2 separate regions of the Homo sapiens genome follow, and region 2 is linked to region 1. Evidence: promoter capture Hi-C in human tissues and cell types (Jung and others, 2019). All regions are on one chromosome and are shown on one strand. Each heading gives the region's core, a stretch centred on a gene start or on the middle of the fragment in contact. The rest is flanking DNA. Distances are from core to core; before and after follow the strand shown. Region 1 holds the start of KCNJ13 (potassium inwardly rectifying channel subfamily J member 13). Region 2 overlaps INPP5D (inositol polyphosphate-5-phosphatase D).

The links. The method cuts DNA at HindIII sites, captures the fragments that hold promoters and counts their contacts. A contact is called where the count stands out against the background at its distance.
Region 2: a contact is called between a fragment that was not itself captured here and the fragment with the promoter of KCNJ13 in region 1, in 1 of the 25 tissues and cell types used here (spleen).

The regions. Positions count from the first base shown.
Region 1 is chr2:232,773,604-232,781,049 of GRCh38, forward strand. It overlaps KCNJ13 (potassium inwardly rectifying channel subfamily J member 13), which reads right to left and starts at 2,962. Exons shown (of 3, transcript NM_002242.4): 1 at 2,842-2,962. All of the region lies in intron 8 of GIGYF2 (GRB10 interacting GYF protein 2), which reads left to right. RefSeq lists a silencer at 6,416-6,710. The HindIII fragment of the contact is 9,389 bases long and covers 1-7,446 here.
Region 2 is chr2:233,079,831-233,087,276 of GRCh38, forward strand. All of the region lies in intron 2 of INPP5D (inositol polyphosphate-5-phosphatase D), which reads left to right. Among named protein-coding and RNA genes, the nearest start is that of INPP5D, 23 kb to the left of the region's middle. RefSeq lists enhancers at 1,874-1,963, 2,474-2,623, 4,994-5,043 and a silencer at 4,709-5,003. The HindIII fragment of the contact is 4,211 bases long and covers 1,666-5,876 here.

The sequences.
Region 1 (7,446 bases), core at 1,712-4,211:
CTGTCTCAAGTATCTGTATTAAACCATTGTTAACTTTGTTCATGATTCTTTAGATAGTAATGATTAATAATATTAGCTAATATATATATTGTTTAGCATGTGCCAGGAATCATACCAAATACTTCATATGTACAAACTGATGTGAAGCCAGTGGCACAGAGTAAGCTCTCAGTAAAGTATTAGTTGCTTTATTGTTATTAAAAACGTGTCTGGCTCCCAGCACTTCGGGAGGCCGAGACAGGAGGATTGCTTGAGTCCAGGAGTTAGAGACCAGCCTAGGCAACGTAGTGAGACTTTGTCTCTATTTAAAAAAAAAAAAAAAAAAAAAAAGGTGTCTTAAGTTTCACAGTAATAAGTATCACTATTAGTCCCATTTTACAGATAACGAAAGTGAGGAACCAGGCATGGTGACTCATGCCTGTAACACTAGCACTTTGGGACGTTGAGTCGGGAGGATTGCTTGAGGTCGGGAATTCAAGACCGATCTGGCCAACATAGCGAGACCCTGTCTCTAAAAGAAAAAAAAAAAAGAAAGAAAATGAGGTATAATGAGGTAGTAAGTGGTGGATATGAATATTATACATTCTGAGTCCAGAGTTAGTGCCATATTGCCTCCAAAACAGATGTTTGACCCTGCTTAGCCTTTGTGAATAATACAGTTTCATTTGATTAGTTTTGTTCAAGAGCCGCTCCAGAGTGTTTGTTCTTCAGTAATGTTTATTGGGTTCAGACCTATTATTTGTAGGTTAGAAACAGATATTCAGTTAGGAAAGACTTCTTTCAAGACTTGAAGATTATCACAGTCTGAATTATTAGATAGTCCAGTTGTGTTTTGCACATCAGTAAAATTAAAGCAATGTAGAGAGGAGAGTTATGACATAACATTGCCAAGTTTCTGTTTTGCCAGATGAGAAGACAATTTTACAAGTATAATACTGTCATTATAAATAAAATTATGATGACATAATAAAAGATTTTGACACATGGAAGAAGGATATAACAATGAAAGGATAGTTGGTTGCCTTCAAAATGGTGGGTGAACAACTTTGTCATTCTCCACTGTTGTTGCTTCCTGCCTATGTGAAAATGCCCCTCATGCTCCTGGACACTAGTGCTTGTTCCACATTTGGAGCCACTGTCCTACTGAATGCTGCTAAGTGCTTAGTGTTTCACAAAAGCTTGAGAAAGAAAAAACTCCATGATTCTTTTGTATTTTCAACCTATTTTATGAAAGTTCTAAAATTCCTTACTTAGAGCCTTTCTGTATAGACTGTAGCTAACAAAATTCATCATTCTCATTTGGGCTTTTTCAGGACTGTTGTTACTTCTTACCTACAACTTTTGTAGCACTCTTACTCTAGGCTCTTTACAATTGTATTTTTTTTCTCTTGCAACTAAATACATGGAAAAACCTGTGAACAGGGAAGTCAAAAGGCTGATAATCGGAACAGTTAAGCAGCATTTTTTTTTTTTTAACCTAAGACTGCTGGATTTGGTTTGGATTGTGTTGGCAAGTGGAGTAATATAGAGAAGGAAGATTGATTTCTGATTCCCACTTAACCAATTACCCTGAATAACTATTCTGTGGACTCTTATAGTCAGTGTGGTTTAGTGTAGAGAACGCAGGATAAGGGGATATGGCCTTCAGGCTCTAGCACTGTTGGTTACATAGCTGTGTCATTTTGGGCAAACCACTCAATCCCATTGGCCTGGCATCCTTAGATTAAAACAAAGAAAGTGAAAAAAGAGGGAATTATGATAATAAGATTTCTTAAAGCTCTACAGACTTATGTAAACAAACATATTTCCACTTCCTACAAAGGATACAAGTTTCCTATATGATTTCTTTTATTTCTGTATAGTTTGATGTCTGCTCGTATGGTTTAAAAAATTATACTATTGTTACCTGATATTTAAGTCTCATCAGCTGATCCCAATAGAAAGTGAGGTGGAAGGTTGGGAAGGTTTGCTTCTATTGCTGTGTGTGGGCTGTAAAATATTTGCCCATTTATAAATTATTTGGAGGAAAAATAGTACCTATTAAAAAATGATAGGCAGCTTCACTGATCATCAGAATTCATTCTACTCATTGGGTTGTAGCACTTAAAAGTATGTATTTTCTGTTGCCATGATAAAAAATAGTATAGTTCATACTGAGGAGTTAAGATAAAGGCTATAACTAACAAACATTAAATGAAGATGGCATTACTATGTATTTGTTCATGTCTGGTGTAAATACTTTAAGACTATATTGAAAGTCTTATAATGATTTCTCCTGCCCTCCACAATTAGGGCAAACACTATTGAGTTCTAACCCTGTTATATAAGCTCAGAGATTCTATTTTAATTTCTCAGTTGCAGAAGTATCTATTAATTTCCGCAATAATTCCATGCTTAAAAATTTACGATTAGGATACTCATCACTTTCTTCTTAGATTACAGAAGTAAAAACAAAGTGGCTTATTCTTTTGGCATTTGTTTTTTTATGCTCATTTTGGGTTTTTGAAATTCCTTCCAAAAGAAAAAGACTTTTTTTTTCCTCAAGCCACTGAATTTTTTTTCCTAAGGCCTTTATCCTCTACTGATATATTGTAATAGAAAATTAGTATACATTTAATAAAACAGTTAAGAAAATTTCCAGTAATACATTCAATATGGCTGTTATTGCATTTTTAAGATTTAAGGGAAAAGAATATAGAAACCTTACTATCCTACACTATAGATAATGTCTTTGTTTTAAAAATCTGTTGGAAGTAATCTAGCTCTGTTGCTATTTGCCAGTCAGTTTCTTTCCCTGTTTCCCATAAGGAAAGAAGAATGGATATTATTGCATGTACTCACCAGTTCTTTTGCTGGGTCAGCCTTTATGCCAAGGTAGGTCTTAAGGAAATTTACAGAGTCTGCCTTTTTGATCAGATAATTTTAATCTACAAGTCTAGTTTGTAGGTTCTCTTCTTGGACTGGTTTTACAGCTTACATTCCTCTGTTTATAATGTTGTGGGGGCTGGTTTCAGCTGAGGTTGATGTGATTGGTCACTTAGCCTGCAGGGGGGCCAATTAGCTCTGATCATGTGGAAAAGAATGCTGGTTTGTTAGGAGGTCTTTCTTTACCCAACACAAACCTTAACAACTCTGGAGAAAGCCTCCAGAACTGACTTGGAGAAGGGGTGCATTTTTTCCCTCTAATCAGGACCGGTCTTTAGTAAGTTTGCATAATCTTACTTAAGAGTTTTTTTGAAAGTTCAAAGGGATAAAATTCCCTGCAAGATTTTTCAGCCGTCTTTCCTTATATAGCATGTTGAAGTGTGAGATATTTCCTTTACTAATCTTTTTTTTTTTCCACCATGTCTTTGGGGAAGATTTATTTGGATAAGGACTTATAGGCATAAATTAATGCATTGATTTTCTTAGTTTTCTTCTCATGTCTCATCAGAATGGCTACCATTAGTTCCAGAACTAGTAATATAGATAATTACGTGAAATCTTTTATTTTTTTGGTTAGGAAACAAACTTTTTTTTTTTAAAGGCTGTATACAAAGACCTTGAATAGGAATAAAATTAATTGTTCTGTACCTGATACTTTAAAAAATGCACACCTGTGGGAAAGAACCGAAGAATTTTCTTAAGGCTTATTTTAATGATGTTTAGAAGATGTTTTCCTGATCAGTGTGATGAAGTATAGTGTTAATAAAACATAGTGTACAGTGTACAGAAAATGTAACACAACATTGAAATAGTGTTTAGCTGGAAAATGTGATCCAGCTTGTTGGAACCCTGAAACGTGCTGTGGTATGGCTTTGTGCAGTGCCTTAGTGAACAGTACTTTTCTCCTCCTCCGTTAGCTGCTGATTTTAAAACTTTGACCAAATGTCACATGTAAGAGGATCTGAGAAACAAAGACTGTGATTGTTCAAAGTAAAATCTTGGAAGGCCTGCTGGGAAAATTATTAATGTAGACCAATATAATGCTACTTAGAAAGTGAAATCCGCCTTTGTAGAATCCTCTCCGTCCCCCCCCCGCCCCACAATTTAAAAAATATATTAATTCCTTCTTTGTTTTATTAGTACCAAATACTTCAACACAAGTTCAGACACAGCATTAGAAACACTGACCTTCAGAACTAGGGAAGGTAAAGTATAAAGAAGGATTTGTGGTGTGATGCTCATTCCCTGCATGTACTGGTAGGAATTATAATGTGTATCAATTCCCAGCTAACAAATTGCAGAAAAACAGAACAACACAACAACAAAATACTAGAACAAGTATAGTATAATACTGCTTCTAGAAAGCAGAAGCACTTGAGTGTATCTGTCATGTGTTTTGAATATACATTGTATATTTTTTATTTTCATTTTTTTTAGACATAGAGTCTTGCTGTGTCACCCAGGCTGGAGTGCAGTGGTGTGATCACAGCTCACTGCAGCCTCGACCTCCCAGGCTCAAGTGATCCTCCCACCTCATCCCCCACCCCCTGCAGTAATGCCACCACATCTGGCTAATTTTTTATTTTTTGTAGAGGCAGGGTCTTGCTGTGTTGTCTAGGCTGGTCTTGAACTCCTGGGCTCAAGCTGTCCTCTCAATTCAGCCTCCCAAATTCCTGGGATTACAGGCATGAGCCACTTCACCTGGCCTGAGAATACATATTATAGTAGGCAAGACAGTTAAGGATTTTATTAAACTTAAAAGTCTTTTTCCATAGTATACTTGGTTTCAATATATTGAGACAAAAATGATTTGGCAAAATGATCTTCAATTAAGAAAGAAATGTCTTAAGTGAAGCTAATTTCTGGATCTCTACAATTTGAAAGTCTTGCTATGGTCTATAAACAGTGATTCCTACTGCTGTGAATATTGTAGACCAGCTCTGAAGTGCCCACTTAGGAGCATAGCTCTCCCATTACAATAGCCTGAGCATTTAAAGTCATTTCTGGTTGAAGTTACCAGGTTAGCTGGTGTAGGGGAGAGAGAAGACCTTCTCTCTTCCTTTTGAAGGTTTGATAATTGAGTCTATAATATAAAGCAACAGTAGGTAGACTTAACAGAAGAAAAACAGTTTACATCCTTATGCACAAGAGTCCCACAAAACATGAGACTTGAGGAAGGACCAGATGATTGAAGTTCTTATAGCATTGGAATAGGGATGTGGAGGTCCTGGGGGAAGGTATTGACAAGCTGTGGGAAAATGAGGGGAGGAAATGTATGATGAACAAAAGTTGTCTAGTTATTGAGATAAAGTCTTTCAGGTATTGAAAATTAACTTGAGGAAGAACGCTACTAGACCTTTTAATCTCTTATGTGATAAGGTTAATCTTCCCTGATTGATGAAATTCTAGGGAGGGGACAAAGGAATTTTTTGAGATAAGGGGGCATCAGAGAAGGCCCCTCCCTGTGCTTGCTGTTCCCTAAGTTCTCTCAGTTTGCAGTAATGAGCATACCAAAGCAGTATATTTTGGGGTGGTGTTTCCTGGGGCTCCTTCACTGAGATGACACGGATATTGGCACAGATGATATGCCACCTTCACCCAGAAACTCATGGTCCTTCCCATCTAGACAATTTGTTATTTCTGTTGTAGCTGTTTCACAGTAAGGTAATTGGAGATGGCTCTAAAACATTTCTTCGGTGAATGAACATAAATGGTAAATACCTGTTCATAGATTGATGGATTGTGTCTCCAAAATTATAATGATTAAATTAAACAAGGTACCAAGACCTGGTTAATTATCCTGTATTAAATCTAGTCCTCTGTCCCTAAAGGCATTTGATTTTCTTTCTGACTGAAATAATTCACTATATATCTATAAATGTATCACATTTTTCTTGAGAACAGTAAAATCTTCAGTTGGAGTGCGATTTCTGGCCTATGTAAGTAGGTAATCTCACAGCTTTAAAACGTTAGCTCTGGTCTCCATGTTCTTGCTTACATAGTGTACTTGGCTTTCTTTTGAAGATGCCTAGTCTCTTTCCATTTCCACATGTCCAAGCCAACTACGAATTGCCTTCCCACAGATTTCAGGCAGCCTCTGGGTATGTACCAGCAGACAGCTGAGCATGAGGGCTGTAGGGTTGTGGTACATATTCAGATGGCCTGAGGACCTTTTTCAGAGATTCTGATACACTGCAGTTTCTCCAGTCTCTGCTGTTTTTTCAGGACTCTTGTTAACCAGCTGAGCAGGTTATTTATTCCTCAGGGAGAAAGTCGTAACTCTCTGGGTACAGAAGTTAAACTGCTCTGTCCTAGCCACCCTGAGTTTTGTTTATAAGTAATTGTAGGGGAGAGGGGTGGTAAATATCAACACTTGAGTGGGATGCCCTTTCACCATTTTCTTTGGTGTTAGATTTTTTTTTGGTGTTGATCAGATAATATATATCTGAACAGAGTAATACAAAGTCACTCCTTAAAAAATTTGCACATAAACAAGCTTCAAAGTCTGTCCCATAATTCCACTTTTGCTTGTGGAGCTTGTGGAGATTGGGCACTTGTAAGCTCCAAGTCTCACAGCTGTAGATTTTGTTGGCTGAGTGCCTCTTTGCTCCATCTGAAGTTTTCCATAAACACTATTTTTGGCCGTGGGTCAAACATGCACACAGGTGCCCTTTTACTGCTCTTTCTCCTTAGGAAGTCCACTCAGTTAGACCAGGCAAAAACTAACACTGCATTTTAATTTAATTTAATTTTTAGATGAATCCTATTTGGACTTAATAAACTAAGATTGAAACAACCAAGTATTTATTGCCACTGGGGAAATTGTATATGTAGTACGTATGTATTTTAGCACCTTTACATAATTTGCTTTTAACGTAAGGACATAAAATATATCGTTTTCCTCATAGTCATGTTTGCTATATTGAATGGAAAAAAATACATTTAAAATTTGTGTTTCTTTGCCTTTTGAGGGTCACAGACACCTTTAAAATTCTGACGAAAGCTGTAGACCCTTTTCCCTGAAAGAAGAAGAAAGCATGCCAGCACAAAGTGCATGTCCAGTGCAAGGATTCACAGCCCTGAGCTCATTCATTGACTGTAGATTAAGAATATTTGGTTCAGGCATGAGTTTGTAAATAATTCAATAAGGTTTACTTTAAAATCATCTTGTTTGTAAATCTGTTAAGATTTTAAAAGTAAGTCAACTGAAATACAGTATTTGGTTAGTCAACTTTGTCATGGTGCTGACGTTACAGAAGGAGGAAGCCTTTGATTTTGAATGCTGAGAAGGGCCATGTAACTGTCTCTCACTCATTTTAGTCTCCGTTGCTATGAATTGTTGGAATTTTTAGACGTGAAGGGAACTTAGATGTCATCTTCTAAACTGCCCATGAATGACTTTAATATTTATTATTTATTTATGTTTATTTTATTATTATTATTTTTGGAGACGGAGTCTTGCTGTGTTGCCCAGGCTGGAGTGCAGTGGCACAATCTCGGCTCACTGCAACCTCCACCTCC
Region 2 (7,446 bases), core at 2,521-5,020, 310 kb after region 1:
CTTTCCATTTGTAGAACTCTGTTCTGTCCGAGGCTGGTGCTCACTGCATCTGATTTCACCAAGCAAAGTCAAAATGTGCAAAACTTGCAGTTCATTTTTTAATATTTTTTATTTTTGAGACAGAGTTTCACTCTTGTCACCCAGGCTGGAGTGCAGTGGCGCCATGTCGGCTCCCTGCAACCTCCACCTCCCAGGTTCAAGTGATTCCCCTGCCTCAGTCTCCCTAGTAGCTGGGATTATAGGTGCCCGCCACCATGCCCGGCTGATTTTTGTATTTTTGGTACAGATGGGGTTTCTCCATGTTGGCCAGGCTGGTCTTAAACTCCTGACAGCGAATGATCTGCCCACCTCGGCCTCCCAAAGTTCTGGGATTATAGGCATGAGCCACCCCGCCAGGCTGCAGTTAAATTTAAAAACAAAAATCAGCTGCACCCGTCCAAGCCCGGGAAGGCCACCCTAAGCACGGTTTACTAAAGCCTTTGTTTCGCCACAAAATGTGACAACTGAGTGTGTGGAAGCCAGGAAAGCTATTGTTATCTGGCTACATGAAGAGCACATGGAGGTGGCAAGAAGGAAGGAGACAAAGTTTCCACATCCCGGGTGTGTGTGTGTGTGTGTGTGTGTGCACGTGACAGAGAGAGAGAGAGAGAGATGCTCAGTTCTCAGGGACTAGAGTAAGAGGCACAGCAGTGCATCCACGTCCCAAGCAGAGTAGCCGGGGTCGACAAAGGTTTGGATATCATGTCATGGAAGAGCAATGACGGCGTTGGAGGAGTTTGTTTGAAAAGAAAGTGGAAGTGGGAGGGGAGAGGCAGGGTACACTCTTCAGTTTCAAAGCTTGAAGGGAATGATTCATTTTGTGCTAACTAGGATGCAGTAGTAGACAGGGAGCTGGACTCAAGGTGTGGGGAGACCACAGGCAAGTCCCTGGAGGCAAAAATCCTCCAGAAGTTGTCAAGAGGGAGAGCGTGGTGAGCAGAACGCCCCTCAGGAAGACAGCTTATGAGGATGGAAGGAATTGCTTCGAGGAGCGATGTGATTGAGAGAGGCCCAAGGGGCATGTGTGATGCAGCCCGGTCCAGGGGCATTTGCTGCGAGGCCTCCTTAGGAGATGCGAGTTTAGGCTCAAGCAGAACCACTCCCTGCGTAGTTAGGCTGGCATTGCTGCCGGCTGCCTCATCCTCCTGCCCCTGAGTCCACTGCAGCCTCTAAGGCACATCTGCTGAAGGCTTTCCACTGGCCTAGGGCGCCCGCAGGTTTGGCCTGGTTCTTAGCAGTCACCAGGAGCAGATGTTGGCACACCTAGTACGAGAAGGTCCTTTCCAGCGCTTGGCAGCTATTTGCCATGGGAATGTCTGTCTCTGACAGGGGCTCTTCACCATGTGTGGGATGTGAGCAGCGGAGGGGAGCCCTGTCTGGGGCAGGCAGTTGGCCTCAATGACCTCTACCATTTTTTTCAAGTCTAGGAGGGCATGAGCTTTTCTGGCAGAGTTGGCATCTGTGATAGGTGGTTTGCTGAGAGGAGTCGGCAAACTCTCTTAAGTTAAAAGTTGGTCGATGCTTTTGATCTTTTTTCCCTTTGTGGTTTCTTCTCTTCCTTCAAAGTGAAGAAAACTTTAAGTATGACTGGAAAAGACATGACTCTGTGGCTTCTAGTAGAGTCGGCACCCGCCGCCTGTAAATGTGTAGACTGCGTCTCCGGTTTGCCCCTCTCTGTCACCATCATACTCTTGCTACTGTGACATCTTGTGACCCTGGGAACTGCTGATGAAATCCGGGGCCTCATCAGGCTACTGGGCAGGGGGTGGTGGTGGTGCAGGGAACAGAAACTCGCCTTGGCTGACTCTGTAAGGGGTAAGGGGTGGGCAGCCTTTGTGGAGATGTGCAGAGCCAGGAAGGAGAAGGCCGCCCTAGGGCCTTGGAACCAGAAGAGCATGGGGTCTGCACGCAGCTTCTCCCATGGATCAGCTCTTCTCTGTGGGGCCGCTCTTCCCAGCCAGCAGCCTCCCTTCTCAGTCCCCAGTCCTAAGAAGGAGTCTGATGGCTCAGCCTCCACGGCTTTCTCCGCATGAGCCACTCAGGGGCTGCCAGTCTGTGTATGAATCGGCTGTCTTGGAGCAGGTACCCCCCTCTGCCTCTCAGAGATGGGGACAGAGTCGTGGGGGCAGCGTGCCTCCTTAAGGTCTCCGCTTAGCCAGGACAGTGGGCGGGCAGCTTTCAGAGAAGATGGGCGGCTCTGCTGGACTTCTCTGCTCCTGACCCCGGCACTAGATCTGTGACCTCCGCAGTAGCTGACATGGTACAGGGAGCTGTGGACCTAGGTGGTCTGAAGAGGTTTTCCTTCAAGGTGAATTAAAGGGGAATTCTCATAGGATTCTCCCAGGTGGACTCACCTTCGAAAATCTACCTCCAAGAGTAAATGACAGCAGACGTCCACTGAGGACCAAGTGCACACTCATGCCCAATTAAGCAGACTCAGAGCCCTTCGGGGAAGCTTTAGCAGTTATTGATCTCTGCCTATTTTAACTCAAGTTCCTCTTTTCATGTTGAGGCAAAACCTCACAGTCTTTTCTGAGCTTAGCCACAGTTTCTAAATAACTCATTCCTGACACCTGAGCCTGTTCAGTGCCACCAGAATACGAGGCTCCCCAAAATAAGAATCTGGCCTGAAATTTTGCCAAGTGAAGCACCGAAAGGCTTTCATTGTTTCTTAGTTTAGTAACTTTAGCTCTTTTCCTGGGGACTTCTGTTCTCTTGTCAACACCAAAGATCTCATCTTTGTTCTTTGCAGACCAACTTCATGGAGTTGGCCCACGTGTCATAGCCCATGACAGCCCTGTATCAATCAGGGAGAGGAGCTGCCTCACCTGGGGGACTCTTTTCTCTCACTCCATCTTTCACAGACTTAAAAAAAATCCGAGATGGGAGGGCAGGATGCAAACTGTAACTTCATCCAACCCCCTCGTTCTAAATATGAGTGTTGCTGAGAACTGCGGAAGTTGGAACTCACAGCCAGGCCTCCCGGCCTCCCCGGCTAAGCTTTCTTCCTTCCAATCCAGAAGGTGTTTCCAAGCCTGTCTGGAGTCCCCTGGGGAAGGATGAGCCCAGGACTCTGCCCAGAGGGACAGGGAGACAGGGCAATGTGGCCTCTCAGAGAGCTTGGCCTCTTGCCCTTCACATGGTTATAGATAATATTTGATCCCAGGTGGCATCTGTCCCTTGTGGTAAATCAGTGAGGTGCCCCTAGAATGAAAGCAGACTCCATTCCCGGCTGGGATCTGGGTTCAAGTCCAATTTGGTCAGCGATGTGGCCTTGGGCAAGGACTGCCAAGAAACTGCTGGAAAGTAGAGATCACACACATACCTCCCAGCACAAGGAAGCTGCTGGGGAGGAGGGTGGAGACAGCAGGGAGCTGGAGGTGCTTTAGAGCATTCTAGGCAGTGCTGGGAGTGGTGGGGAAGGAGGGGTAAATTTTGGAACTCCATCTCCCTCAGCTCTGCTCTTTGGGCTATGGGCTTCATGTCTTCAGGGACCTGAGTACGCTCTGGAACTGTTAAGCAGTTGTTCAACAGCTGCTGTGCCACTCAAACCCTGAGAACCTTCTGGACTCAGCTTGCACTGCTTTTCCTGGTTGGGGGAGGGTTGGGGCAGTGCTCTGAGCCCTGTGTGAGGCCAGACGAAGGCAGAACGGCTCAGCCCCGCAGGCCTGACTGTCCCACACCAAGAGAGTGGGTTTCTTGTAAAGCCAAAACTCCTTTCTTGACTTGGAAAGGGAAGTGACTCTCCCCTAAGAGAAGCGGTGCCTATCTTGAGCTGCTCGCTGCAGACTGAGCTGGGAGGCTGCTGCTGCCTTTGAAATGGCCCCTCTTTGGGAAAGTAAGGAAGAGTCTGAGGTCCTGCAAGCCGCCCTCATGGGCCAGCTCCAGGGTGGCCAGGGAGGCCTGGAGTGGCCTCAGACGTGTCGCATAAATGGCTGTCTCAAACCTAGGGCCACAGTTGAAGCAAAAGAGGCCCTTCGGCTCCACCCTACAACCTTTTGGCCCTTGCGTCCTTTCTAACATCCTTCCCACCGAGAGGAATAAAGCAGAAAATTAGAACTACCCATAATCCCCTATCACATCAATGTTCTCTGTGAACTTCCTGTCTTTTCTTGAGGTTGAGATTGTATCTAGGATATTGATTGTTTCAGTCAAGATGGGAGCACCCCCAGGTGTTTTTCTGTTTTGTTTTGTTTTGTTTTTGAGACAGGGTCTTGTTCTGTAGACCAGGCTGGAGTGCAGTGGCGCGACCTCGGCTCACTGCAACCTCTGCTCCCAGGCTCAAGCAATTCTCCCACCTCAGTCTCCTGAGTAGCTGAGATTACAGGTGTGCACCACTATGCCCAGCTAAATTTTGTATTTTTCTGTAGAGATAGGGTTTCACTATGTTGCCCAGGCTGGTCTCAAACGCCTGGGCTCAAGTGATCCACCCGCCTCAGCCTCCCAAAGTGTTGGGATTACAGGCGTGAGCCACCATGCCCAGCCACACTCCCAGGTTTTCATGCAAGTTTAGATGAAGAGTTAGAAAATATCTATCTCATAGACCCTTTCATTATTCTTTCCCGATTTGGAAGAAAAAATCCAGTGGTCTGAGCCATTCCGGTGAGTTCTAAAGAAGAGACACTTGTGACTCAAGTCCCTGGTCCCTGACGGTGGCTGTCACGTATCTCCGGGCGACATGGCTTTTGGAGAGGGAAAACAAAACAACTTTCTAAAAGCTGTTCCGTCACAAGCATCCGGGAGGTGAACGGTTGAGCCATTGTTATTAAGCTCAGGAAGCGAGTGGCAGCTGTTATTGTTCTGAGTGGTCACTGAGTGAAGTAAAGATTCCGTCTGAGCCGCCGGGCAAAGGATGTGGCTCTAACACACTTCCTGAAGTTGCACAACAAGGGGCACAGAAAAGGTTCAGGGCATAGAAGCCTAGCACGGCCAGGGCTGCCCTGTGTGGGCTCCACAGCCATGCCAAGGACAATGGGCCCCAAGGGGGTCCGTGCTGGTGGAGGGGTTCCTTTATGCTCTGACACTCACCTTCTAGAAGCCTGCATTTTGAATTGGTTTTTCTGTCTACTGCAGAATATGGACAGATCTATTTTCCAAGCCTCTGAATATCTCAAAACATCTTTAGTTGTCTACACATTCAAGAGTAATTTGATAGATATAAAATTCTTGGAACCAACTGTTCGCTCAAAATCCTGTAAAAGGTACAGCACTACCTTCAAGAATGTAGTGTTACAGGCTGGGTGCAGTGGCTCACTCCTGTAATCCCAGCACTTTGGGAGGCTGAGGCAGGTGGATCACCTGAGGTCAGGAGTTTGGGACTAGCCTGGGCAACATGGTGAAACCCCGTCTCTACTAAAAATGCAAAACTTAGTCGGGTGTGGTGGTGCATGCCCGTAGTCACAGCTACTCCGGAGGCTGAGGTGGGAGGATCGCTTGAACCTGAGAGGCAGAGGCTGCAGCGAGCTGAGGTCTCACCACTGCACTCCAGCTGGGTGACAGAGCAAGACTGTCTCAAAGAAAAAAAAAAAAAAGAATGTAGCGTTATGAATAGTTCCGAGTACAAAATCCAAGGCCAAACTTGTGCTGGTTCCTATAGAGGCGACCCATTTTTTTCTTTTTTTCTACTTTGAAGCCGGTGGGAATTCTTTTCCAGTGTTGTCATTTTCCTTTCATTGATAGTACCTGCAATGTGTTCGGCTTGTTCACTTTGCAAACTCTGTTCTTTGACACAAAAGACCTTTCTTCTGTTAGGTCTTTGAGTAAGTTTTTATTCCAGCTCTTCTGGCATCTTTCTTCTAATCCCCTGAGAAAGCCAAGCCTCCCCCCGTTTTCTAGCCCCCTGGGGTACACATGCCTTTGTGACTGAGCAGCCCCTCCCTCTTGTGTGGCTGCAAGATCCCTAATCCCTTCCCCAGTCTGTCAGAGAATTCTGGAAAGAGTATCCATGCCATTTGTCATCTCTACCTCCAAATGACTGTCTTTATTTTCTCCCCATCCCCACTAGCCATTTTGTCCTTGTTTCTCCATGTTCCAGAGCCTTCTGGTTCACCTTGCCCCAGATCATGGGCCTGTTTCCTGTCTTTGTTACCCAAAGCGGTCTAGAACTAACATCAACATGCACCATGTAGCCGATAAGTTTAGACTGGGGAATGGGATGCAAGTGTAACCAATGAGATGTGAAGAGAAGGGCTTTGTGGGCTTCTAGTAAAGGTCTGTTTGTCTTAAAAACAGACATAGGGATAAGATAGCCTCTTTCTTTCTTTCTTTCTTTCTTTCTTTCTTTCTTTCTTTCTTTCTTTCTTTCTTTCTTTCTTTCTTTCCTTTTTGAGACAGAGTTTCGCTCTTGTTGCCCAGGGTGGAGGGCAATGGCATGATCTCGGCTCACCACAACCTCCGCCTCCTGGGTTCAAGTGATTCTCCTGCCTCAGCCTCCCAAGTAGCTGGGATTACAGGCACCTGCCACCATGCCGGGCTAATTTTTGTATTTTTAGAAGAGATGGGACTTCACTATGTTGGTCAGGCTGGTCTCGAACTCCTGACCTCAGGTAATCTGCTCGCCTTGGCCTCCCAAAGTGCTGGGATTACAGGTGTGAGCCACCGCACCCAGCCAAGATAGCCTCTTTCCTACCTTTGGAAGCTGCCATAGGATGTGATAGCTGGGTCTCTGCTGCTGCCTTGTAACCATGAGGAGAGGTAGCTGGCGAGTGAGGCCAACACACGGAAAGGAGAAGTGAACCTGGGTCCTGGATGATGCCCTTGAATTTGCTGAACAGAATGAAGCAACCTGGGATCTGCCCTCCTCTAGATTTTCTGTTTTGTGAGTTAATTAATTTCTTTTTGCTCAAGTTAGTTGAGTTAGGGTTTTCTAACAGCTAAAAGTGTCCTAACTTACAAAGGTTTAAACTATCCCAGGGGAATTTCAAAGCAGAAAAGTGAAAATTTCAAATTGAATATCGAGTTTCACTGCACCAAATGCCCATGAGCCACGGTCTGACAACACAGTCTCTGGGTCTTCCTTCTCCTTAGCCTGTGTCGTGTTTCTGGGACCTGCTCCAGCCCTGTCCCAGACATTCCTAATGACTTATGTTCCTGTCAGACATCCTTGGGCTCAACATCTCTTTCTCTAACCCTGACCAGAAAAAGCACAAAAATCAATCAGTATTTTAACAATGTCTGTGCACTGGGGAGGCATGATTTCTTGCTTATTGCAGGATGGTTTCGCTTCTCATCTTGACTTTGCCCTTCGAGATCAGCTTCCGGGTCTAATTGTGTCTGTCAGATTTGCAAGAGGCCACTTCGGGTTTGCCAAATAGAAGAAAGTCTTTCTGAGAGGCCTCACTTGATCACCCCAGAAAAATAGTCACCCCACCCTTCACCTGTTGCTCTTTAACCCCTTACCCTCCTTTC